Regions from separate parts of the Homo sapiens genome. Here all the other regions are linked to region 1. Evidence: promoter capture Hi-C in 16 types of primary human blood cells and fetal thymus (Javierre and others, 2016). All regions are on one chromosome and are shown on one strand. The core of a region is centred on a gene start or on the middle of the fragment in contact, and the rest is flanking DNA. Distances in the headings are between cores, read along the strand shown. Region 1 holds the start of INHBA-AS1 (INHBA antisense RNA 1). Region 2 overlaps SUGCT (succinyl-CoA:glutarate-CoA transferase). Region 3 overlaps SUGCT (succinyl-CoA:glutarate-CoA transferase). Region 4 overlaps SUGCT (succinyl-CoA:glutarate-CoA transferase).

The links. Contacts are between HindIII fragments. The CHiCAGO score rates a contact against its expected background, and 5 or more counts as called.
Region 2: a fragment that was not itself captured here is called in contact with the fragment with the promoter of INHBA-AS1 in region 1 in 2 of 17 cell types (monocytes and neutrophils); the score reaches 5.9 in monocytes.
Region 3: a contact is called between a fragment that was not itself captured here and the fragment with the promoter of INHBA-AS1 in region 1, in 1 of 17 cell types (monocytes). The highest score is 6.2, in monocytes.
Region 4: a contact is called between a fragment that was not itself captured here and the fragment with the promoter of INHBA-AS1 in region 1, in 2 of 17 cell types (monocytes and erythroblasts). The highest score is 5.3, in monocytes.

The regions. Positions count from the first base shown.
Region 1 is chr7:41,690,457-41,696,649 of GRCh38, reverse strand. INHBA-AS1 (INHBA antisense RNA 1) reads right to left here and starts at 2,731. Exons shown (of 4, transcript NR_027118.2): 1 at 2,562-2,731. It overlaps INHBA (inhibin subunit beta A), which reads left to right. Exons shown (of 3, transcript NM_002192.4): 3 at 6,108-6,193. The HindIII fragment of the contact is 8,944 bases long and covers 1-6,193 here.
Region 2 is chr7:40,268,564-40,274,756 of GRCh38, reverse strand. It overlaps SUGCT (succinyl-CoA:glutarate-CoA transferase), which reads right to left. Exons shown (of 14, transcript NM_001193313.2): 8 at 101-244. All of the region lies in intron 2 of LOC105375245 (a long non-coding RNA gene), which reads left to right. Among named protein-coding and RNA genes, the nearest start is that of SUGCT, 140 kb to the right of the region's middle. The HindIII fragment of the contact is 5,035 bases long and covers 1,111-6,145 here.
Region 3 is chr7:40,583,338-40,589,530 of GRCh38, reverse strand. The region is part of intron 12 of SUGCT (succinyl-CoA:glutarate-CoA transferase); the gene reads right to left. All of the region lies in intron 3 of LOC105375244 (a long non-coding RNA gene), which reads left to right. Among named protein-coding and RNA genes, the nearest start is that of SUGCT-AS1, 39 kb to the right of the region's middle. The HindIII fragment of the contact is 1,386 bases long and covers 2,722-4,107 here.
Region 4 is chr7:40,600,878-40,607,070 of GRCh38, reverse strand. All of the region lies in intron 12 of SUGCT (succinyl-CoA:glutarate-CoA transferase), which reads right to left. Among named protein-coding and RNA genes, the nearest start is that of SUGCT-AS1, 57 kb to the right of the region's middle. The HindIII fragment of the contact is 3,105 bases long and covers 2,324-5,428 here.

The DNA.
Region 1 (6,193 bases), core at 1,482-3,981:
CCGTGAATAATGGGGAAGAGCGGCCACAAGAGGGCGCGTTCCAAAGACTTTTGCTCCTTGTCAGTGTATCCAGGGAAAGGCAGTTGCGCGTACTGGAAGCCCCTGTCTGTAGCGCCCTAATCTTGGTGATTATCAGTTACCGCCTGCTCCCTCTCATCCTGCAGAAAAAGTTAGGAATTTATGAGATGGGAGAAGCATGACTACCTGTAATACATTAAATGAGACAGAAGGAAAGGAAATGGAAATTCTAGTGATACATGTGAACATTCCGGAGCTCTATGGAAGGCAGACGAGTGATAAATTTCAAAAGCAAACAAAGCGGAGCAGGGAGAAATGTGACTATGAATCATCAGCGATACTGATTTGCTCACAAGTCTCTCCCTAATACGGTCTCCCGGGTCGTAACAAAAACATCTTCCATCTCCCCTGATTTTGTTGCCTAGTTTTCCTGCCTTATCAACAGTTTCCACCAGCGACAAATGACAAGTGACTTCAAACAGGGAGGAAAAAGGTTCTTTCTGTAATGCCTTGTGGGAACATGGTGTTCGGCTTCTGAGGATGCGTTTGTTTCCGAACTGAGGGTGTGGAGAGAAATGGTGGGAAAGATGGGAAAAGAGATTAATAGTGGTCTGCGGCCTGTGCAGTGGATGGACTGGGCTGGGGGTGGTGGAGATGCCAGGGTGGAAAGTCCGTTGTAATATTTAAAGAACTGCAGTAATACCTTCCCAGGCACTTTTCTTGAAAACACATATTTGTCTTGGCCCCTCTTCTGCTAAAAAATACTTGCACGTGATCTCCTAGCTGTAGTTCTGAATTCTTCGTACTCGACTGGTTCCTAAGTCCAAAATGAGAAGTGCCAAAGTTCTCAGGAACTTTGGAAGAAGTCTCTGAAATTTTGTGGGTTAAACCTTAAGAATTTTTGCTACTTGTAGGAACCTAAAACCCCTTTCTCCCAAAATATTTAACCTTTTTCATCACCACTTTAATGGAAGAGGCATGGATGATGGACGTTTGTGCCAGGGCATTTATAAATCAATAATGGACCCTAAGGAGGGAAATTAAAGCTAAAAAATTAATCAAGATAATTTATGGCCAAACCTATAGTTCTACTGCAGGAAAGATCCTCTACTGTAGGTCAAAGGAGGAATAACCTTAAGACCTCACTTGCTGCTTTCTGCAGAAACCCCTGGAAGCAGTCCAAATGCAAAGTTAGGGCTTCAGAGAATGCACCCTGTAAATGGTAGTTGTGTATACCCTTACCATTGACTATACCATATCTAGGCACAGTGAAATCTTGATGAAGAATGGAAAATTAAAGGAACAGACGCTTTTTACAGGGAGGCTTCCCCCAGCCCCCATCCCATGGTAAGTTTAAATGTGTTCTATAAACAACGAGGCTTTCCACATTCACATTAGAGACATAACTATTGCCCATATGTAAAAGAGCAACATATTTTAAGCAGGACCCTGGTGAGGAAAACAAAACCAAATCGAAACACTGCATGTGTGTGTTGCTTATTTAACTGAAAATGTTCATAGACCCACAAATCTGAGATGCTGGACTTTTGGATGAGTCCAGCATTTTGCATCTTAGTGTAGGGGGAGGGAACAACAAGGGGCTTAGTTGCTTAACCCTTGCCATGCCTTCATGATTGACTTATTCAAAACATTTTTAAAATTCTGAAAGCAAAGGAAAATGTGCTGCAAACACCCTTCCAGCTATCTTTCCTTCCAGCTTACACAGTCTCTCCTCTGTCCAATCCTTCCCACCCAGCAGCATTTCAGAGGTATTCCCTGTGAGGTACAAAATTTCTCTTTGCCCATTTTTCTGCACCTCTTTTTCTCTCTCTTTGGTATGTGTCCACCAAGCTCATAGAGGTTTAAGTGATGAAATATTATCACCCACATGGGTTTGCGTGGGACTTTCTTAGTGAATTACTCAGGCAGAGCAGGCTGTGATACAGCCTTGCTCACAAGCCTCGGGAGGGAAAAAATAGCACAGAGGATGAAAAGAATATTATTAGAGAGCAGGTAATGAAAGGTTCGCAAAGCAACCAGCTATATCTGGTTAGCTAGGTAATAGTGCAGGAACCTAGGTCGCACCTGTACAAACTAATGCAGAACCTGCTCACGGCGCACTATGGGAAGACATTCATTTCAAGAGTTTACAGCATGAGATATTTGAGTAAAACCTGAAACTGATTAGAAATTGATCCTGAACATCCCAGCCTTAGTCAACCTTCCCTTTTTCAAATTGTTATGCATGGAGATTGGAGGATTGGGGCATCTTGAAAGTGTCACTGCAGTATAGCAATCTCTCTCAGGTAATATAGAGATAAAGGGAATATAATAAATTGACCTGTTATTTATTATCTTTTTCATACCTAGGACATTCCGAGGCTTAATATATTTCTGAAGCCTACAGCCCTGATAAACATCAATCCCACGTCAGTTTCCAGCAGTCTCATCTCCCCACACCCTTCTGCAATGAAAGCTAATGTAAAAGAAAGAAATATGCACTGCTTAATAAGTCAGAATACAATAGAACTTGTAAAATGTACCTGCATATAAGGTAGACATTAGGAAGACTTGAATCTCTCTCTTCCCCCTGTTCTCCTGAGCATTATGGCAACAGCATTTTCATGAAATTAGATCTGTTTTATATTTTTTCCTGATAAAATATCATGCAATATACAAATAGCAGTTCCAGAAATGGACACCAGGAGAAGGAGGCGACAGGCATGTCAATTAGTAGGGGGAAAATCCAAATGTCAGAAATATGGGGGAGAGAGAAAGCACGCAGGCAGTGGATGCAAATACAGGGAACAGAGTCTTTCAATTCAGATAATTAAACGGATGCATAAATCAGCACCCTTGCCTCTCTACAATACGCAGGCGATGCCATGCAGTTAATTATCAGCCAAGACCAGCATGAAAGTCATTTTATGATGACTCTCTGATCCTAATATAACAGCACCTGACAGATTGAGCCCCCTCTAATGAGTACTCTCTTTGTACAATCCTCTCTCAGGAACACTAAATCATTTGCTTCCAAGTACAGCTGCCTGTGAAGAAGGGGTGGGGCTAGATCATGCATCAGAAACCTGCTCTTGTGAAATCAGGGGCTGTCCTGTAGGCTGTGTGACTGGAAGCCAGCAGCCTCAGCCTCTCTGGCCCTAAAAAAGCAATTTGCACACGGCTGTCCCTAATTCTAGTCAGCCAAGTAACCCTCCCTCGGCACCCCCACCTAAACATCTGTAGTCAGCCTTGGGTGTTATTCATGGAAAGTCCACTGCATGCGGGTCAGCACTGCTGTCCATCGGCTTCACCCTGACCCCTTCTGGCAGGTGTGGATGAGAGTAGAGCAGAGCTCATGGGGATGAGTTACCCCAAACCTATTAAGCCTCCCTATCCGGGGCACTAGTCAGACACTCCAGTTTTACACTCTTTCCTAGAAAAACAAAACCCAACCTTGTGCCCTCTGGGTTCTCTAATTTAGCAGCTACTATCTGTCTGTTTTTGGAGTGACACCCTGTGCAGTTTAGGATTTCAGAAGCTGTCCTGCATAGAGGCAGAAGGGAAAACAGCAGGTATCTTGTTAACATTCTCTATGGGGCAAGGCAGATGTGCCCAAGCTGGAGGAAACCTGCACACCCTCCAGGCTAGTTATCCAAGGCTTGGGAGGTTTCCCTCGGCCTTCTCCTAAGGCCTTGGCAGGACCCTGCCACCCTAAAATCAACTGCTGATTGCCTTTTTAGATTTAAATGATTAAGCTCTGCTTATGGGAATCTTCTTCTCTTTTATTTTGTTAAGAAACAAACAACAACAACAAAACCCACACCAATTCTTAGCAAAGGGGAATATCGAATTCAGATTTTGAAAAAATAAGTCATCATGCTTCCTAAAATAAGACAGCTTCTCCCTCTAACTGCTCTCTCTGCTCTGGTATTCTATCTAATCATAAACCCAGCTTTATTATTCATTTCAACTCCTGCCAAAGACATGAGGTCGGAGTCAGAGGAACTCCCCTTACCACCGCCACCATCATCATGGCCAGCATCCTCGTAAGTTTATAGAAAGATGCCAGAGAACCTTTCCTATCCATCTGCAGCCCTGCTTGGCCCTTGCCTCAGTGAATTTACCACTATCATAATCACAGTGTGCAGAGTGTGTTAAATTAAGAACAGAATCCACAGTACGCAATGCACAGAAAAGCCTGCCTTCTGCTGCAGAGAACTTGAAACTGTGCCTAAAATTTATAGTACCGTAAACATCTCAGGGCCTCGAGTGATAAGTATGGCTGGATTTCCGTTAACTATAGAAATCCAGGCAGGGAGATCCTCCCAGGGAGTTGCAAGTTCTAAGATGAACTTCTTGAAGATTGTTCCCAGATTTGTGCATGGGATACATGTACAGCAGACAGTTGTAAGGAGGTCCACGGTCATGGAAAAGAGGATATGTTTCTATATGCCACCAAGTGGGAAAAATGGAAGTGAGGGAAAATATTTGATTAATCAAAAAATTTTAGTTTGGATACCTGCTTTCATAGTAATTGTTGCTGTGTCATTAAACATACAGTTGCTTAGGAAAAGAGAAGGAAATAGGTGACTTTCTAATTTTAGAGTTAGGCTGGAACTGAGTGGTTGCTAAATTCAACTGCCCTGACAATGTGGGGATTTCCTGTCCATTAGCAGCGATTGCTATTTGACATATGTTTCTGGTGCCCATTAATCTGCCCTGTAATGGGTCAGAGGCAAAAATGGGGGATTCAGAGGTACTAGGTGGCTCTCTTAATTTAATAGAACTCAATGCTAAGGACGCCTCTATTTGTTAATAAGTAATCAAGTCATTGGCTACTTTCTGCTAAACACTAGACTATGATAGTGACCTTAGACCCCGGGCATTCTAAACCAGGCTGGCAGGAGGGTGGTGGTGGAGGTGATGTGAGGTAAGCCTCCTAGAGGAACTGTCATCCAAACAATCTGAAAATTGAAACATTATTAAAGGCAGCACTAAGGGTGGTATGTTGGAGTTGGGGCAGGAGCACTTAAGGCAGAAGGAACAGCAGGTGTCACTGCCTGCAGTTGAGAAAGGGGGTGGAATTCTCAAGGCCTTAGACCCCAGAGAACAGGACTGGGCAAGAGCTGACATTCAAGGGAGGAACAGCATGTACAGAGCCCAAAGTCCCAGCCACTTTCTGTTGGATACTGAGCAATAGGAATTCAGTAAAGGACTTTCAAGAAGAAGTGATGTGATCAGATCCACCTGTGGGAAAGATGCCTTTAGCTGCTTCATGGAGAAATGACTGGAGAGGAGGCCTTCCTTAGTGTTGCAGAGGCAAAGTAAAGAAAATGCTGCTGCAGTGACCCAGCAAAGAGGTGATGGCGGAGGAATCAGGCTGTGACAAGGGAAGAAGAGGCTGGCTCAAGTGTGTCTCGACTGCACAGACTTACACAGCGAGGTGGGGCCAGGGGCTGCATTTTTGTCTGAGAATAGTATTTCCTTAGCTTTCTAGAGCTTACAGTGTCTTTTTGTTTATGTTATCTCATTTGACCTTCCTAAACCTGTGAGATAACAGGTCAAATGTCCTTATGTCATTCCCATTTTTATAGAAGATGAAACTGAGGTTGAGCAATTAGTCAACAGACACAGACTCGCAGGCCCTCTTCATTCTAAAGCAAGGGTCCAAAACCTTTTTTCTATAAAGGGCCAGAGAGTAAATAATTTAGGCTTTGTGAGCCAGGCAGTCTGTTGCAGCTACGCAGTCCTTGGTTATTATAGTGCAAAAACAGCCATAGGCAGCATGTACAGAAATGAGCATAACCATGCTCCAACAAAACTTTATTTACAGGCACTAATGTTTAAATTTCAGGTAATTTTCACATGTCACAAAATATCACTTTTCTTTAACCACTTAAAAGTATAAAAGCCATTCTTAGTTTGCAGGCAGTACAGAAACAGTTTCAGCCCATGGGCTGTCATTTGTTGACCCCTATTCAAGAGGGTCTGTCACAGAAGACTCCTGCTTGCCTGAAATTTACGAGTGCATGTAAATGTTGGAATTAACAGGTGTGCCTGTTTTCTCTTATGCTGTCTTTCATCTTCAGGAACAGCCAGGAAGACGCTGCACTTCGAGATTTCCAAGGAAGGCAGTGACCTGTCAGTGGTGGAGCGTGCAGAAGTCTGGCTCTTC
Region 2 (6,193 bases), core at 2,379-4,878, 1.4 Mb after region 1:
TGTATTGTTTTTGTACATGTGACCATAGAATTTGATCTGAAAAGGTATAACCCAGACACAGTTTTTATAACATTATCTGAAATGTTAGTTGGATTGTTACCTGGGATGACAGTAGGTTACAATCAATGAACAGTCCTTTCCCAGTTTTGTATTTTTGTATCAATCCAGCCATAATAGCTCCATATGCATACAGGCCAGTGGCAAGATCAGTCATAGCTACTCCTGGGCGAACTGGATCTCCATTCTGATTTGAAGGTTGGGTTGAGAAAGAAGAAATAATTAAACATTAAAAGAATCATATGATTTCTCAAATCTTCTAATGTGAAATAGAAAAAAGAATTGTCTATTAACTGTGCAGACACATACACACAAGAAAGTTAATAAAATAAATTGCTATTGTGAATATCTGTTGGTAATAGGAAAATATTTATATTTACTATATACTTCTCAGTGCATTTCTCTCCCCAATGCCTACTAACCAAACTAAAAATAAAAGATTTTTTAGAAACCGATCTGATGTTTCAATGTTTTAAATTCCTTCTTGATATATTTTATCTTGTTTATGCTAAAAAAATTAATTGAATTTAAATGAGTTAATTTGTTGGGGAGAAAGAGTTAAAGCAGTGTTTTTCTCCTATTGGGTGAGAGGCTCTCTCACAAAAAAAAAAAAAAAAAAAAAAAAAGAAGGTAAAAAATCTGGTCAAACCTCCTTGTAAGCACACCAATAGCTGGCAAAAATACTAACAGTGTTTGCTTAATAATTTAAAAAAAGACTATTTACCCATAAAAAGCTGTTAGCAGACTGCCCCTGAATTAGGATTACTATGATAAACAAACTGAGAATCTCAAGATTTATGGGACATGGAGCACTGGGCACAGGGCATGAGCTTTGCAACTATCTGGGTATAAAACGGAGATGTTTCACAGCCTGTAACACTCCCTGCTAATAACTCATATATTTCATTAAGGACCTCATCTACTGCTTTGGGCCACAGAGTTTTGTCTATTGCAGTAAGAAAGGATCCGGGGGCCTCTCTCAATGTCCCAGACATGTCTCTGCTTTTTCTGAGCCTTTTGATTGCTTGTATTCTTGAAATTATAAGGAAAGCTTAATATTGATTAACATCTCCACTTCATGTCAGTCTGATTTGACAATCCAATCCTTGGCCCATATGTAAAGATGTTAGAACAGTACTTGACACAAAATAAAAATCACCTATCAAAATTATCAACATTGTTATTAGTCATTGATATATCAGATAGTTTCTACTTGTCACTACCTTTAATTCTGCTAAGCCTTAAATCGCACAGAATACCTAAAAAAACTCACATTTCATACTTCATCTGGCTGATGCAGTGATTCAATTACCTCCTTATTAAGTCTAGCTTCTGTTGAATCATTTTCAGAAGTTAATTTGTCCTTTTTTTGTAGCCCATCATAAACCATGTTAATTGTTTTGCAAAAGTACTGTTTTGCAAAATAATGTTTAAAGCAAGTAACTGAGACGGTATAGTAGCTAAACTTATTTTTCCCTGCTTTTCAATACAATTTCAAGGACGATATTGCCATGAAACTTGGAAATGTCTGGCAGTTTACTATTATTATTGTCAAAAGTTGTAATGTAATGCCTTAAATCAATACACTTAAAATTAAATTTGTCATTAGAATTTAAAATTATTTAATGTCTTAAAAGTGAGAGACAAGTTCAAAGTTACATTGACCCTTGAACAACAAAGTTCTGAACTGCATGGATCCACTTATACGTGGAATTTTTTTTCAATAAAAGTTACACTAAAGGCTGGGCACGGTGGCTCACACCTGTAATCTCAGCACTTTGGGAGGTCAAGGCGAGTAGATCACCTGAAGTCAGGAGTTCAAGACCAGCCTGGCCAACATGGTGAAACCCCGTCTCTACTGAAAATACAAAAATTAGCCAGGTGTGGTGGCACATATATGTAATCCCGGCTACTCAGGAGACTGAGGCAGGAGAACTGCTTGAACCCGGGAGGCGGAGGCTGCAGTGAGCTGAGATCGTGCCACTGCACTCCAGCATGGGTAACAGAGCAAGACTCCATCTCAAAAAAAAAAAAATAATAATAATAATAATAATAATACCATATGATCCAGCAATTCCACAGCTGGGTAGATATCCAAGAAAGAAGAAAATCAATCACGAAGAGATATGTGCACTCCCATGGTTACTGCAGCACTATTGACAACAGCGGAAATATGGAATAAACCCAAGTGTCCATCAAAGGATGAATGGATAAAGAAAATGTGTTCACGCACAGTGGCTCATGCCTATAAATCCCAACACTTTGGAGGCCAAGCAGGAGGATCACTTGAGGCCACGAGTTCAAGAACAGCCTGGGTGACAGAGTAAGACCCTGTCTCTACCAAAAAATACAAAAATTAGCCGGGCATGGTGGCACACACCCCTAGTACCAGCTACTTGGGAGTCTGAGGTGCAAAGATCACTTGAGTGCAGGAGTTCCATCCAGGCTGGAATGAGCTATGATCATGCCACTGCACTCCAATCTAGGCAAAAGACTGAGACCCTGTATATATATATATATATATATATATATATATATATATATATATATATATATATGTCACATTGCAGTTGTTTTTGAAACATCCATATATATATATATATAGAGAGAGAGAGAGAGAGAGAGAGAGAGCGAGACAGAGAGAGAGGAATATTATTCAGCCATAAAAAATTAGCTGGGCAAAGAATAAATTCCTGTCATTTGCAACAATATGGATGTCACTGGAGGACATTATGTTACATGAAAGAAGCCAAGCACAGAAAGACAAATATCACATATTCTGACTCAGATGTGGAAGCTAACAAAGTAGATCTCATGAAGATAGAGAGCAGACTGCTGGTTACCAGAGGCTGGGAAGGGTAGGGGGAGGAGAGATGAAGAGAGGTTGATTAGTGGGTACAAACATACGCTTAGATGGAAGAAATAAGAATTGTTGTTCAGTAGATCAGTACGGTGACTATAGCTAACATCAAAAGGCTGTACATTTCAAAATAGTTAGCAGGGAATAATTGGAATGTTCCTAGAACAGAGAAATGGTAAATATTTAAGGTGATGATGGGTATATCAACAGCCCTGATCTGATTATATTAATGTATGGAATGATCACATGAACCCTGAAAACATGTACACCTATTATGTATCGATTTTTAAAAAGCTAAAAAAAAATGAAACTTCTCAACCTAATAAAGGGCATCTATTAAAAATCATAACCCAGATCACACTTAAAAGTAAAGAACTGAATGTTTTCCCCTAAAATGAAGAACAAGACAAGAGGCCAGGCACGAAGGCTCATTCCTATAATCCCACACTTTGGGAGACTGAAGGGAGGGCCACTTAAGCTCAGGAGTTGGAGCCCAGACTGCACAACATAGTGAGACCCCCGCCTATATATTTTACAAAAGAAAAAAAATTTAACTAATTATTTTTTAAAAGAATGAGACAAGGATGTCCACTCTAACCACTTCAATTCAACATTACACTGGAGGTTTTAGCCAGTGCAGTTAGGGTACAAAAAGAAATAAAATGAATTTAGGTTGCAAAGAAAGAAGTAAAACTATCTCAATTTGCAGATGACCCAGTCTTATATATCAAAAGTCCTAAGGAATCCACTAAAAAACTCTTAGAACTAGTAATCGAGTTAAGCAAGATTGCAAGATAAAAGCCAATATACAAACATCAGTTGTATTCTACACACTAGCAATAAACAAACAAAAAATGAAATAAAGAAAGTAATTCAATTTATAATAGGATAAAAAAGAATAAAATACTTAGAAATAAATTTAACAAAAGAAGTACAAACTTATACTCTTAAAATAATAAAATATTGTTGAAAGAAATTAAGACAAAAATAAACCAAAAGACATCTCACAGTCATGGAGCAGAAGACTTAATATTGTTAATATGGCAATGCTTCCCACACTCCTCTGCATATTCAAGGCAATTCTACCTACCAAAATCCTAGATACCTTTTTTGCAGAAATAAAATCTGATCCTAAAAATTCATATGGAAATACCATAAACAAAGAATAACCAATCTAGAAAAAGACAAAGTTAGAGGACTCACAAATTCTGATTTCAAAACTTACTACAAAGCTACTGTAATAAAGGCAGCATGGTACTGGTGGAAGGCAGACATATAAACAATAAAAATTCTCACATTTACATCCAATTACTTTTTGACAAATATGCCAACACAATTCAATTGGAAGAGTCTTTACAAAAAATGGTGAAAATAATAAAGTTGGATCCCCTCCTTGCAGTACATACAAAAATTGACTCTAAATGGACCAAAAATCTAAACTTAAGAGCTACAACTATATAACAAAAGAAAATATAGGAGTAAATCTTTATGATATTGGATTTGGCAATAATTTCTTTGATATGACATCAAAAGCACTAGCAACAAAAGAAAAAATAAATTGGACATAATTGAAATTAAAAATATGTGTTTCAAAGGACACCATCAAGAAAGTGAAAGGACAACCCAAAGAATAAGAGAAAGTTTAGTAAATCATGTACTTGATAAGAAATTTGTACAGAATTTCTTTTTTTTTTTTTTTTTTTTGAGAAAGGGTCTTGCTCCATCACCCAGGCTGAAATCCAATGGTGTAATCTCGGCTCACTGCAACCTCCACCTCCTGGGTTCATGCAATTCTCTTATCTCAGCCTCCCGTGTAGCTGGGACCACAGGCGCACACCACCATGCCCAGCTAATTTTTGTATTTTTGTAGAGACAGGGTCTCCCCACGTTGCCCAGGCTGGTCTTGAACTCCTGGGCTCAAGCAATCCACTGGCCTGGGCCTCCCAAAGTGCTGGGATTAAAGGCATGAGCGATCACACCCAGCCCAGAATTTTTAAAGAACACTTACAACGCAAAAATAACAAGAAAAATGACCTAATTTAAATATGGGCAAAAGATCTCAATAGACATTTCTCCAAAGAAAATATACAAATGGTCATTAAACACACGTAAAGATGCTTAATATCATTAGCCATCAGAGAAATGCAAATGAAAACCACAGTGAGTCTACAACTCAACAATAAAAAGACAAATAATCCCATTTTTTAAAAATGGGTAGGTCAGGAGCAGTGGCTCATACCTGTGATCCCAGCACTTTGGGAGGCTGAAGCCGGAGGACTCCTTGAGCTCAGGAGTTTGAAACAAGCCTAGGCAAAAAAGCAAGTCCACATCTCTACGATAAATACAAAAATTAGCCAGACATAGTGGTGCACACCTGTGGTCCCAGCTACTAGGGACACTGAGGCAAAAGGATTGCTTGAACCCAGGAGGTGGATGTTGCAGTGAGCTGAGATTCCACCACTGCACTCTAGCCTGGGTAACAGAGCAAGACTCTGTCTCAAAAAATAAATAAATAAATAAATAAAATAAAAAATTAAAAAAGTAAAAATTGAAGTTAAATGGGCAGAGGTTTTAAAGACACATTTCTCCAAAGAACTAGATACAAATGACCAATGGGCACATGAAAAGATATTCAACATCATTAGTTGTCAGAGAAATGTAAATTAAAACCACAGTGAAATACTACTTCACACTCACAAGGATGACTATCATAAAAAAAGAGAAATAACAAGTGTCAAGAAGGATGTGAAGAAATGGAGCCTTCATGTACTATTGGTGGGACTGTGAAATGCGGTAGTCACTGTGATAAACAGTCTGGCAGTTCCTCAAAAAGTTAAATATAGAGTTACCATATGACCCAGCAATTTCACTAAGGGGTATATACCCAAGAAAATGAAAGCATGGGCTGGGCACATTGGCTCATGCCTGTAATCCCAGCACTTTGGGAGCCTGAGGCGGGCGGATCACGAGGTCAGGAGTTCGAGACTAGTCTGGCCAACATGGTGAAACCCCATCTCCCCTAAAAATACAAAAATTAACCGGGCACGGTGGTGCACGCCTGTAATCCCAACTACTCAGGAGTCTGAGGCTTGAACCCGGGAGGCAGAAGTTGCAGTGGGCCAAGATTGCACCACTGCACTCCAACCTAGGGGACAGGGCAAGACTCCAACTCGGAAAAAAAAAAAATTAAAAACAAGAAAATGAAAGCATGTGTCCTCACAAAAAGCTTAGACACAAATTTTTATAGCAGCATTATTCATAATAGCCTAAGAGTAG
Region 3 (6,193 bases), core at 2,165-4,664, 1.1 Mb after region 1:
GATTAAAGCCACTATAAAAAGGGCTTCTGGAATCCGTTTGCTCTCTTCTGGTCCTTTACCATGTGAGGACTTGGCATTCCTACCCTCTAGAATGGCAGGGAGCATCTTGGAAGGCTGATCAAGGCAGCATCTTGGAAGCAGAGAAACTGGCCCTAAGATGCTGGTGCCTTAATCTTTGACTTCTCAGCCTCCAGACTCTGAGAGAATAAATTTCTGTTCTTTATAAATTACCCAGTCTCATGCATTGTTAAAGTAGCAGAAAATAGATAAAGATAATATTTTAAAGTGGAATTATAAGAAGAAAAAGGAGGTACATAAGAAAATATTGTCTTGGCTCACAGTCTTAAGGATACACACACAAGCACACACACACACACACATATATGTACATATTTAAACAATACTACAAGATTACTAAACAGAGTGACAAGCTGCTATGACACCAATTACTGGTTTTGTATCAGTTTAGAAAAAATTTTATTTAGATTATTTTAATTAGATCATACTTTGAAAATGTGCTACATGTTGATGTATAATTATATATTTATTTGTACAAAACAGAATTATTTCCTAGCAAGCAAAAATATCAGATATGAGTTTTCTCTGCAAATGTATGCATATTACTCCAGATTCTAAGGAAAATGGCAAGCAAATGACAGATAAAAACAAAGAAGAAAAAAATAACATTTGTTAAGTGCTTTATAGCCTTCAAACTGTTTTCAGATTCATTACCTCAAATTCCACAATAGTAGATGAAATTCATTCAAAGAATAACATATCCTGTAATTTACATGTTCCCTAGTGACACTATTTTAAGATTAACCAGGATTATTGCAGTATTATTAAATATGATGGTATTAAACCTTGAACCTAGAGAAATGCTTAAAGCAAAGAATCAAATGAAATGCTTAAATCATAATCATTAATTAATATTGTTTATAGTTCTTTATTAAGATTAATCACTCTTGAAACCTAAAACTCTAATCGTTAGAAATGTGACCATGGGAAAGTTAGAATTCTGTATGTCACCTCTTCAATTATAAAACACAGATAACCCCTTACCTCCTGTAGATAATGGACCAGGAGAGTTAATACTTTGAGGTCCTCTCTGCCTAAAAATTATACTAATCTATAGTTTTATGAATACATAACAAAACTAGTGAACACAGAGTGATATAAGACCTTCAGGAAGTTTATTTCGCATGCAGCGCACCAGCATGGCACATGTATACATATGTAACTAACCTGCACAATGTGCACATGTACCCTAAAACTTAAAAGTATAATTAAAAAAAAAAAAAGAGAATTTTCTTAGAAATACAAAAGGAGGGCTGGGCGCAGTGACTCACACCTGTAATCTCAGCACTTTGGGAGGCCGAGGCGGGCAGATCACTTGAGGTCAGGAGTTTGAGACCAGCCTGGCCAATTGGTGAAACCCTGTCTCTACTAAAAATACAAAAATTAGCCGGGCATGGTGGCACACGCCTGTAATTCCAGCTACTCAGAAGGCTGAGGCAGGAGAATCGCCTGAGCCTGGGAGGCGGAGGTTGCCATGAGCTGTGATTGCACCACTGCACTCCAGTTTAGGCGGCAGAGTGAGACTCTGTCTGGAAAAAAAAAAAAAAAACAGAAAGAAAGAAGAAAAAGAAATATAAAAGGAGGATATAAATATATCTGTTTAAAAGATATCCATTTTACTGTTGTCTCATACAAGTGATTTATATAAGTGAAATATGAGTGAAAATGAAAATTCCATTATGTATTGAAAAATTTTAAAGCAAGCTTTAAAAGGATTGATGATTTCATATGGTAGCTATTTTCATTTAAACACAATAAAAGGAAAATGGGATAAGTCATATGACATCTTACCAATCATGTTAATTAAAACATCACTTCCTCTTTCACCTCCAACTGCTTTGCCATGGCAATGACAAATAAACACTAAATTGAATAAACATTTAATGTGTCAACTCATGTTAAATGCAAATTTAACTGCTTTAGGTACACACACACATCACTTTTATGAATTTTTAATTTCTACATCATTTTTCTATTATATGTGTTGTATATATTTATATATCTATCATAAATATGAAGACATGTTTAGACACAAGAATTTTAGAATTATTTATTTTTCAAAATAGCCTGGTTACAATAACTTAACATATTGAGAAAATAAACTTGGATCTACTTGTAAGTCTGTCTTTGTTTATCATTCAACTTTACTGATGTGCAATTTATATACAGTAAAATTCACCCCTTTTTGTTCACAGTTCTCTGAGTTTTGACAAATGTATAGTCATGTAACCACTACTACCATCAAGATACACACTATTTTCATCATGTCCCCCAAAAAATCTGTTGTGTCTCTTTATAGTTAATCCCTGCCTTTCACTGCCAGCTCCTGGCAACTCCTGAGCCTGTTTTCTGTCTCTATAATTTTGCCATTTCTAGAACGTCATACAAATGGAATATACAGTATATAGCTCTTCACCTCTGGCTTCTTTCACTTAGCATAATACATTTGTGATTCATCCATGTTGTTACATATATCTGTAGTTCTGTTACTTTTCAAATTTGTAAGTGGTATTCCATTGATTGGATGTATTCCATTATTTGTTTACTCATTTACCAGTTAAAAGACATTTAGGCTATTTCCTACTTGTAAGTCTTTCTAAACATGGCAGATCATAAGGCAGCACAGTATTGTGGTTAAAAGCTTAGGTTTTTGAGCTAGACAGATATGAGTTCCAATCTCAGGTCCAATATCAACTTGTACCTTTGAGCAAATTACTTATATTCTTCGAGTTAGAGTATTGTTGTGAAGATTAAACTAGTATGTGGCCTGTAAATTGGTAAGTGTCTGCTGTTATTATTACTACTGTCCCTAGTGCTCAAACTCTGCTCTACTTCCAGTCTTGAAACTAATCCCAAATTTAACACTGTCAATCACCTCAGAGCTTTTACTATATTCCTTACTTAAAACACCTCACCCCTTCTCTCTGCTTCCCTTCTGCAAGACCCAAGTTCCTCTTCCTCCAGGAGGACTTCTCTAACTCACAGTTCACATTTAGATTGCCATTCTGCACATTCTTAGAGCATGCATCATCCAGTCTGGCAGCCACTACTTACATGTGGCTTTATACATTTAAATTAATTACAGTTAAATAAAATTTAAATCCAGTTCCTCAGTCACAGAAGCCACACTTCAAGTGCTCAAGCAAAACGGCTAGTGGCTGCCATATTGGGCAATGAGGATATAGAATATTTTAATCATCATAGTGATTTCCATTTTAAGTTCTAAGTTAAAAACATTGCCTAACACTTAAAACTATATAATTCTATATAGAACAGGAAAAACTAATAATTAGCAGACATCGACTGAGCTCCTATTCTGTGCAAGACATTCTACCTTAAGCAATGATACAGCATCTTTTAGGGGATCTTGAACCACCTGGACAATTATATTAAAAAAATTTAAAAGAAGAAATGATTACCAAGGTCTGGCAGGTAAAAGAAAAAAAATAATAAGTCATTGAAATTTAGAAGTTGGCCAGGCACAGTGGCTCTCACCTGTAACCCTAGCACATTGGAGGCCAAGACAGATGGATTGCTTGAGCCCAGGAGTTCAAGACCAGCCTGGGCAACGTGACAAAACCCTCATCTCTACAAAAAATACAAAAATCAGCCAGGTGTGGTGGTGCACACCTGTAATCCCAGGTACTTGAGAGGCTGAGGTAAGAGAATCACCAGAACCTGGGAGGTCGGGACCACAGTGAGATATAATCACACCAATACACTCTAGCCGGGGTGCCAGAGTGAGATCCCGTCTCAAAAAACAAAACAAAAAAGTTTAGAGGCATGTGTGGTGGCTCACGCCTGAAATCCCAACACTTTAGGAGGCCAAGTGGGGTAAGATGGGTTGAGCCTAAGAGTTCAACACCAGCCAGGGAAACATATCAAGATCTCGCCTCTACAAAAAATAAAGTAATTGTCAGGGAGGCTGAAGCAGGAGGATCCACTTTGTCAAAAGATCTACAGAATCACAAAACGATGTTCTTCCTAGATTTGTCTCAAGCTAAAGGTGTCTCAAGGAAAAAGTAAGCTTTTAAAGTCCAAACCTTGAATGAGAAAATAATTGTGTTTTCAGAGAAGAAGGCAAAACAAAGACGACAACAACGAAACCTGACTGCTGGAAGACTCATTTCAGAATATACCTTAAAAAGCCACTATATGTCTCATGAATCAATCCAGATACTATATCACCCACCCCTCTGGCACAAGGTTATGACTCACTGTCTGAAACCACAATGCTTATAGAATCCTCAAACGTTCAAGGATAACTACATTTGGTTCAAGTCAGCAATAGAAAGGGAGCTCATTAAGAATTCCCCATTTTCCCCACTACAGTCCCTTACCATTAGAATCCACCTACAACTGCCAGAGCTGATGGGATCATTCCAATTTCATCTTCTCAAGGAGGATTCTGAGAACTATTGAAGGGTGAGTTTAAAGGTGAATCATCAAAGCCAGTTTAAATGTTTTGAAAAGATTAAGGCATGAAATTATCATTTACAATGCACTTGCCTTAGAAGATCCTGGTTTTCTACTTTTCCATTTACACAAGAATGTCAGGAGATCCTCCTGAGAGGAAGCAGAATGTTAAGATACCCTGGGAAGTCAGAGTCATTACTATCACTCCCAAGGCAGCTATAATGGCAGGAGAAAAGTATCCAGTGTAAATAGTTCGCCACAGTGGAGCCTTATGTTACTGTATATACAACATGGGATTTGGAACAATATCCATATGCCAATCCCAGCTCTATCACCATCTAGCTCTATCACCTCATTTAATTCCTTAGTTTCTCCTGTCATCAGTTTATTCATCTGTAAACTGGGGTAACACTGTCCTTAATTACTTTGATGGAGTGTTGTGATGGTCAAATGAGATAATGGCTGGGAAAACACTTTGCAATCTGTAGATCACTATGCACATGGGAACTATTATCTGGTCTTTTCCCCTAAAACACTGCTCCTTGGAGTTCACTTAGCCTGGGATTTTCCAACTTCACTTCTAAAAGAACATTTTTGGAGCTACTCAAATGAAGACTTAGACAAAATATGAGTATCTGTTTTCTGCTTTTTTTCTGATCCAAGGAACTTTCTTCCTTTCACAGATTTAGCTCTTTATGTCATTAACTAAATTTAAATCATGCCTAAAGACTTACTTGTTTGGCAGCACAGTTTCATATCCTGTTTGGTTTGATTTTTAAAATTCTTTTGTAAAGCACTCCAAGATGTTTGCATGAAGATCACTCAACAAATGGAAGCCTCTCTCGAATAATACACACACAAGGACACACCCACATCAATGAGAAGAAACATAATACAGACTTTTGTTAACTTGATAAAACAAGTGCTCAAAAAACAATTCCTAAAATTACATTCGACGCCACACTGTATGACCTTTTCTTGACTGAGAGAGCCTTAACCCTGAACTGACTTGGAAAGCTAAGGTAATCTGGTAGAATTCAACTCCACCAACTTATATAGAGAGATGTAAGTGTATGCTTCAACATAGACACAATATTTTCCATGAAGCAGGCATCCTGGCAAGTAAAAATTCCCTCGTGTTTCAGCATGTATCGAGAGACTAACCATCAGATCCTGAACTGGGTTACATAAGCACAATACCCTTATTGTTAGCAGCTGTGTATTGGTCAGCATTGCACAACTGACCAGGTGCATGGCAGGATGGAGTTTTGTCTTTATCCAAAGATTCAGAGTAGATGGGCTCAGGACTTGCTCTATGATGGCAATATATTAATTCCAAGCCATCAGGATTATTATAACCCATAAGATACTTTGCCAATTTATGCATATGTGGTAAAAATTAAGGCATGTAGTAGATGCCAAAAGAGCCATTGGTTTAATGTGGAAACCTTCTTTTCAATTCTGAATGTTTAAGAATTCATTTTAAATGTAATTGTCTGGATGTGAAGGTAAAATAATTGACTCAATGACACTAAATATCATCATACAATTCCAGGGAAGACATATTTAAACTACCAACGGAAAGGATATGTGATTTTCAATGATCACTTTAGGATAAAGGTATAACACTAAAAGTATTCATTAGAAAAGCCAAGGAAAGATCAATCCATACAGGAAAGAAGAGTTTCTAAAATTGAAA
Region 4 (6,193 bases), core at 2,627-5,126, 1.1 Mb after region 1:
TCAAATTTATTGCACAGATTCCTCACCTGGAAAACAATTTTACAACATGATCTCTACATTCCTCCCTCCTAATTAAAAGGTTAGAATATCAAGCATTTTTCTGATCAAATTATGCATATGAATACATAAAAAGGATGATTCTTCTTCGAAAGCAAAACAAATTAGAACTTTCTGCATTTTCCCTTTCCAAGGCCCACCCAAAAAGGACTCAATCTCTGATGCTCCATCATGTATATAACTTAATCCTTTAACTTAAATAGATCAAGTTCATCTAGAGTTTATTTTTAAGTCATTTCTGATTTAATATGGCTTTTTAAAAGCTTACGTTGGTTGACATTAAATCCTAGATGTTAACGCTGACAGGTTCCATGATAAAGACTTGATCATGTAAGAGTAAAACATTTTTTGAAAAACTTACTTTTTAGTAGGTTTCTTATTAAGACAAAATGTTACCCAAATCCAAATCCTCAACAATGTTTAATGTGGTAAAAGCAGTTAATGAAACTGTCACTTTAATCTCCTAAGTAAAAGGGAAGCAGGAAACAAGGAAAGGCTCCATTTGCCTCTATTCCCCTGTATTCCACACAAAGACGCTTCCTGGATGCTCTAGGATCCCAAATCTCGCCCTTTTGCATTTTCTCTCTCTGAGCTGAAGACCCTGTTTCCATCTGTGTAGTGGGTATCCTCACACGTGGTCGCTTCAGTTTCCATATGCCCAAAGTGAAACTCACGACTGCAGCACCAAACCTTTCTCAGCTCATCCTGTTATCAGTGTCATCCACACTTTCAGTCTTCTTCAATGCTTCCTTCTTTGTCATCCTCCACCTTCAATCAACTTTCTGCCTCTTAGAAAGCTTTCCCGTTAATCCTTTCTCCAGGAGCCCCACTCTCTTTGTCCTTCTTCTTTTGTCTTTTCTGCTCCAACAGAAGGTAGACAGCTTCCTGTTGCTATTTTTGACATTCCTCTACCCTCTATCCATCCACTACCTTCCTGAGAGATGTTTCTAAAATGAAAAGCAGCCCTCACACTCTCCTAGTGACAGTCGTTCAACGACTTGCCTTCTCCGACTGAATACGATGCAATCTGCTCAGCATGCTAGACAAGGCACTGCACAAACTGATTGTAACCTACCACTCTAGCCCACCTCTCACCAAGCTCCACTCCTTGGACTCCAGCCTCTCAAAAGGCCCTGTGAGACACACACACACCATTTCTTCTACCATCTACTATCTGCCACGCCCAAACTTGTCTTACTGGCAAACATACAAGTATCTTTCAAACATACAAATATCTTTTAATACTTACCTCTCACCAGCCTGCAGAGCAGATCCTAACTCCTACCCCTTCATAGTGTTGTTATTCCCATCTCTGTGTTTCCCTCGCAATTAATATCTTCCTTTATTAGTGTGTTTTTTAAGTTCTCCTCTGGACGGAGTTTCTCAAGATTGTAGGTATTCTCTTTTCTCCTCCATTTCTGACTGCTCTCTACAGCCCTACACAATGGCAGGTACATAGTCGGTGCCCATTCATGTCTGTTCAGTGACTGAAAAATAAATGAATGAATCAAATCCAAATAGATTTTAAGGCTTTGATTTTAGAAAGAGCTATGTTAAACATAAGGAAAGCCACACAAATATGCCAAATCTTGTATTCTCCAAAAAAACACGGAATATCTTGAGTGGAAAGAGTGAGTTACTAGGTAATTCTTTGTGTGGGTCCATTTGTGTCTGTGAACATAAAGACGTACACTTTGGTGTATTGTGCCACTGAACTGAATGTCATCAGAGCAAATGTAAAGCCCCATTCCACGATGAAAGGAAACTGGTGGCTCTGAAGTTGATTGGAGTAAAACATAAAGTAAGTTATCATTTGTTTCTTTGACATAAAATTTCCCCAAATAACTCAAGGCTGTATTTCCATGGCCATCGTCTTATGCTGGTAGAGCATCACTCCTGAGAGGAAAATCTGCCCCCGTGTTAGCAAAAGCTTGAAATTCTTTAAGCCAGGCGCTGAGAGGCGGACGCGTGTGCTGCTCTGCCCAGCAGAGGGCACACAGCCCCCAATACCGTGCAACGCCGGCCATCAAAGCGGGCTGGCAGGACTGGGTGAAGTTGTTCAACAAACCCAAGCCTTTGAATCCGGGTCAGCGTGCTGACCTCCTGTCCTTGCCTGCTCCTTGGCATTCTGTTCTGTTCTTCCCACTCACAATGAGGTGTTAGTGAACCTCAAGCTCTCAGGCAAACCCGTTTGGGAGCAAATAGGGAGAGGGCAAAGGTGAGGCTCTTCACTCAGGAGTGTGATGATTTCTTGGAAAAGGAAGCTTTAACTCACTCCTACTTGGCCTTACAGTGACAGAAAGCACCCTAAACTGGCTATAGCCTACATTCTAATTCTTTCTTTCTGTAAGTGAATAAGGGACGATCAAGGTGGGGGTTTTCAATAGGCCCCTGTCCCCAAACTGAATGAAAATGACTCTCTACTCTTACTGATTTGGTTTAAATATCTTAGGCATCGGAAGTGTAACGTTAAGATCACTAGTCTATTAAAAGGCTCAATGGCATAAAGTCCTTCACCTAAATACGTTATTTATACTTAATGAGCTTGTAGAAGAGGAGCGAAAACATGACATCCTCTCACATTCTAAAAACAGATGCTTCTGTTGATCTATGTAAGAGGAAGGGCCAGTGATCTAGAAAGAAAAAATTAAAAATACAAAATAAACCAAGCAGATTCATGTAACATTCAAGGAAACCTACAAGTTCCCACGCTTTTTCTGAGAAAAGCAAGGGACCATCATAGGCCTTGCAGGGAGATTGCTTGTCTGCTCTGTTAATCATGAAACTTGTTAAGAGGGAGGAGATAGCAAGGGCCTCGGGCGAACACTCAGAAAGATGTCACAAAATACTTTTTTTCTTCCTTCAAAATATGCCTCAAGCACAGAAACGAGAAGCCTGCCCGGAATTTTACCCCCACATTGAGGAACCTCCCCCACTCCTATGCAAAGGTCTAGAAGCAGGAGGGAACATGGCTACTGAAAAATGGTGGCCACCTCAGGATGGGCTAAAGAACAAAGTGGGGACTGGGGATAATGAAAGATGAAGGTTGGTGTAACTCACTGTAAATAGCGCTAAGGATATTATCTATATCTTAAACTCACGAGAAGCCACTGAGGAATTTTAAACAGGGGAATGACATGAGCAGATTTGCATGTTGGGAAGATCATTCTAGAAATAGAAAATAGTGGGGCAAGTTTATGCATATCAAACATGAAATGTCAAATTAAATTTCATGCTTACTAATTATGATAGGGCATGGCAAGATCATTAACTTATTTTTGAAAAGCAGGACATACCAAATAAGAAGGGGAATTTTTCTCATTTCTAGTCCACTTGACTTACACCCTAAACCCAGGGCCTCATGCCTTGAACAATGCTAAGGGCTACTATTTATGCAGACCATAAGGCTGAGAACCATCTAAATCCAGAATAAAATCTCAAGGGATTTGAGATTTTATCAGTACTATCCTACTTTCAAATCATAAAAGTATTATTCATTATACAGGAACTTAATTACACAAAAAAACTTATGGAACAGCTACTATATTTAATCCATTGTACTAGACTCTTTTGGGAACTCTGAGATCAATAAAATGTAATCTTTGTCTTTAGAAATTCAGAGACTACTTCAAATCAAGTAGAGGAAATCACTTCTTTTTTATTGGGTTTATGGGTAACCTTGGGCACACAAGAATACCAAAGAAAGCACTTTCGCTATCATTATGCATTTGTCATACATATTCCTATGTATCTAAACCCTTTTAGTCTCTTAACATCCAATTATTCAAGTGTAAATATAGAGTCTGAACTTTGGAAAATCAAATTTAAATCAACATATTTTCTATACTCTCAGGTTGCATTTCTTTGAAAAATAGAGGTTACATATTCTTAAAAACACATGAGCACCAACTAGAGGATAACTGTAAGTGAAGAATATATTTAATTCATCCTAGAATTTAACTTCCCTAGAAGTTCACATGAGAGTTCTGTTCCCCTCAGTCCTATTTATGCTCAGAATTACTATGCCAGCTCCTTGTTCCAACATCCCATCACTACTGCAGTTCTGAAAAGCAGCCACCCAAGACTGTTTGGGAAATTTCTACCATTTCTAGAAGAAAGTGAGAATATCCTAAGAGTGTCATCCTGTTGGAAAATCCTACCACTACTATGAATAATGTCTAGGATGGGATTGCTAATCCCATGGAAGGGAGAGATAGTACATACACCTAGAAATGATTAGAATGGATGACAAAAAGAACAGAAGATCCCAGAAGGGAAGGAAACAGTTCCAGTAGGTTTTCATGAGGACACTATGACTTCCTACTGTTGCAAGCCAAAAGAGTGAGGGTCATGATCAGCTCTGTATACCACTGGAGGCTATATGAGTAAACAGCAAACTGTTCTCATGAAAGCAGGATGTTGGCAAACTGACAAACTGAGTCTGTGGTCCAGAAGGAATACTGAGGGCAGTCACAACCCAGGCACAAGTGTTTCTTGTGAATAGACACATCTGAAGCCTGTTAGCAATAATGTGAACCTGTGATCAGTCAAGCAGCTGACCAGTCGTTACCTCCTCCTCCCTGCTCTTTCTACCCAATAAATACGAAGGGCTGTAAAGGCTCAGGGCTGCTGTGTTTGCTCACCAGAAGCAGGGAGCCCTCTTCTTCCCCCCGACAGATCCCTTCATTAAAACAGTTTCTTTTAAGTTTTCATTTCTGGGTTCATCCCCCTTCATTCAGTCCCGTGGTAACCATGGCAAAGCACAGCATCCTACTGCCTCAGTAACTCAGGTTTGGGGGTTGGTTGGTTGGTTTTTCCCATGGCTTAAGTATATAACCATGGTTTGAGGGTTGACCTATAATCTGATCCTACATTACAGCAGACACAATTGAGAGAGGAAACAAATCTATTTCACTCAACAGAGTTGGGCTGAGATTACTTAAAGTGAAACCATGTTTAAAATTCTAAGTATTGTTATATGAAGAGGTCTCCAAGGTAAAAACTTGAAAGAGTATGTCTATAAAAGTCCAAAGAAACTATTTCTAAATGAAAATGTTGAGTGCTTTAAAATGCGAACTCTCAGGCAAAGGGCAATCCTTTTTTAGATACACTTTGAATTTGGCAATTTGAAGGGTTAGATCTTATTTGAAGGGTTAGATCTTAGAAAAAGGGTGTCCAATCTTTTGGCTTCCCTGGGCTACATTTGAAGAAGTATCTTGGGCCACACATAAAATACACTAACACTAAAGATAGCTGATGAGAAAAAAAAAAAAAAGTCCTCACATTTTAAGAAAGTTTACAAATTTGTGTTGGGCCACATTCAGAGCCATCTAGGCTGCGAACTGTCTGCAGGCCGCATGTTGGACAAGCTTGTCTTAGAGGCTTAGGCTTTCTCATGCAGAGCTGCTGTTGTCAAATACTAGAAGACAAAGCGTAAGGTTCCTGTGATACTCCACATCATGGAATTTCATGGTAATGAACCACAGCATAAAGCCAGGGTACTTTGTGGTTCATGTAAGTATTTCCACAACAGACTCAAAACCTTCAGAAAATGTTTCTAAGCAGTATTATTTTATCACTCAGAAATCCATTACATGAGTACCTCAAAGATTTGTGGCAAGGACATGTGTTCTTGACGGTTACAGTCCACAGGGGAACCTGGTGTCTGCAGATCCCAGATCTCTCCCTTTGCCAATCAAATGAGCTAGGAACTTCAGGTCAATACAAGACAAAAGGTAAACTAGAATAACAAGGAGTTTTTAGATTGTACACCCCAATGCCAAACTCTACAGATTCCCACCTGGAAGCTATTTCCTAAGACATCCAAATAGCAAATACTGAACTATTTGCTACTAATACATCTGGCCATTCAAAGGGTCCTGCACATAGATAAACTAAAGAAATTTTGTTTGCCTACTACCATAAGCAGTTTTGAACTTCATATAAATATGGGACTTAAAAAATATCCTTTTCTCCTCTTTCTTTCTAGAACTGGCTTCAGATTTATAGTATTCCATTTATGTTGCTATATTAGAATGACAGTGGTACATTTCATGTTTTGACCAAAAACTATTGGAACATAGTGTTGAACATAAGTACCTTAAAAAGTACTTAACTGCCCCCTCCCCCATATCAA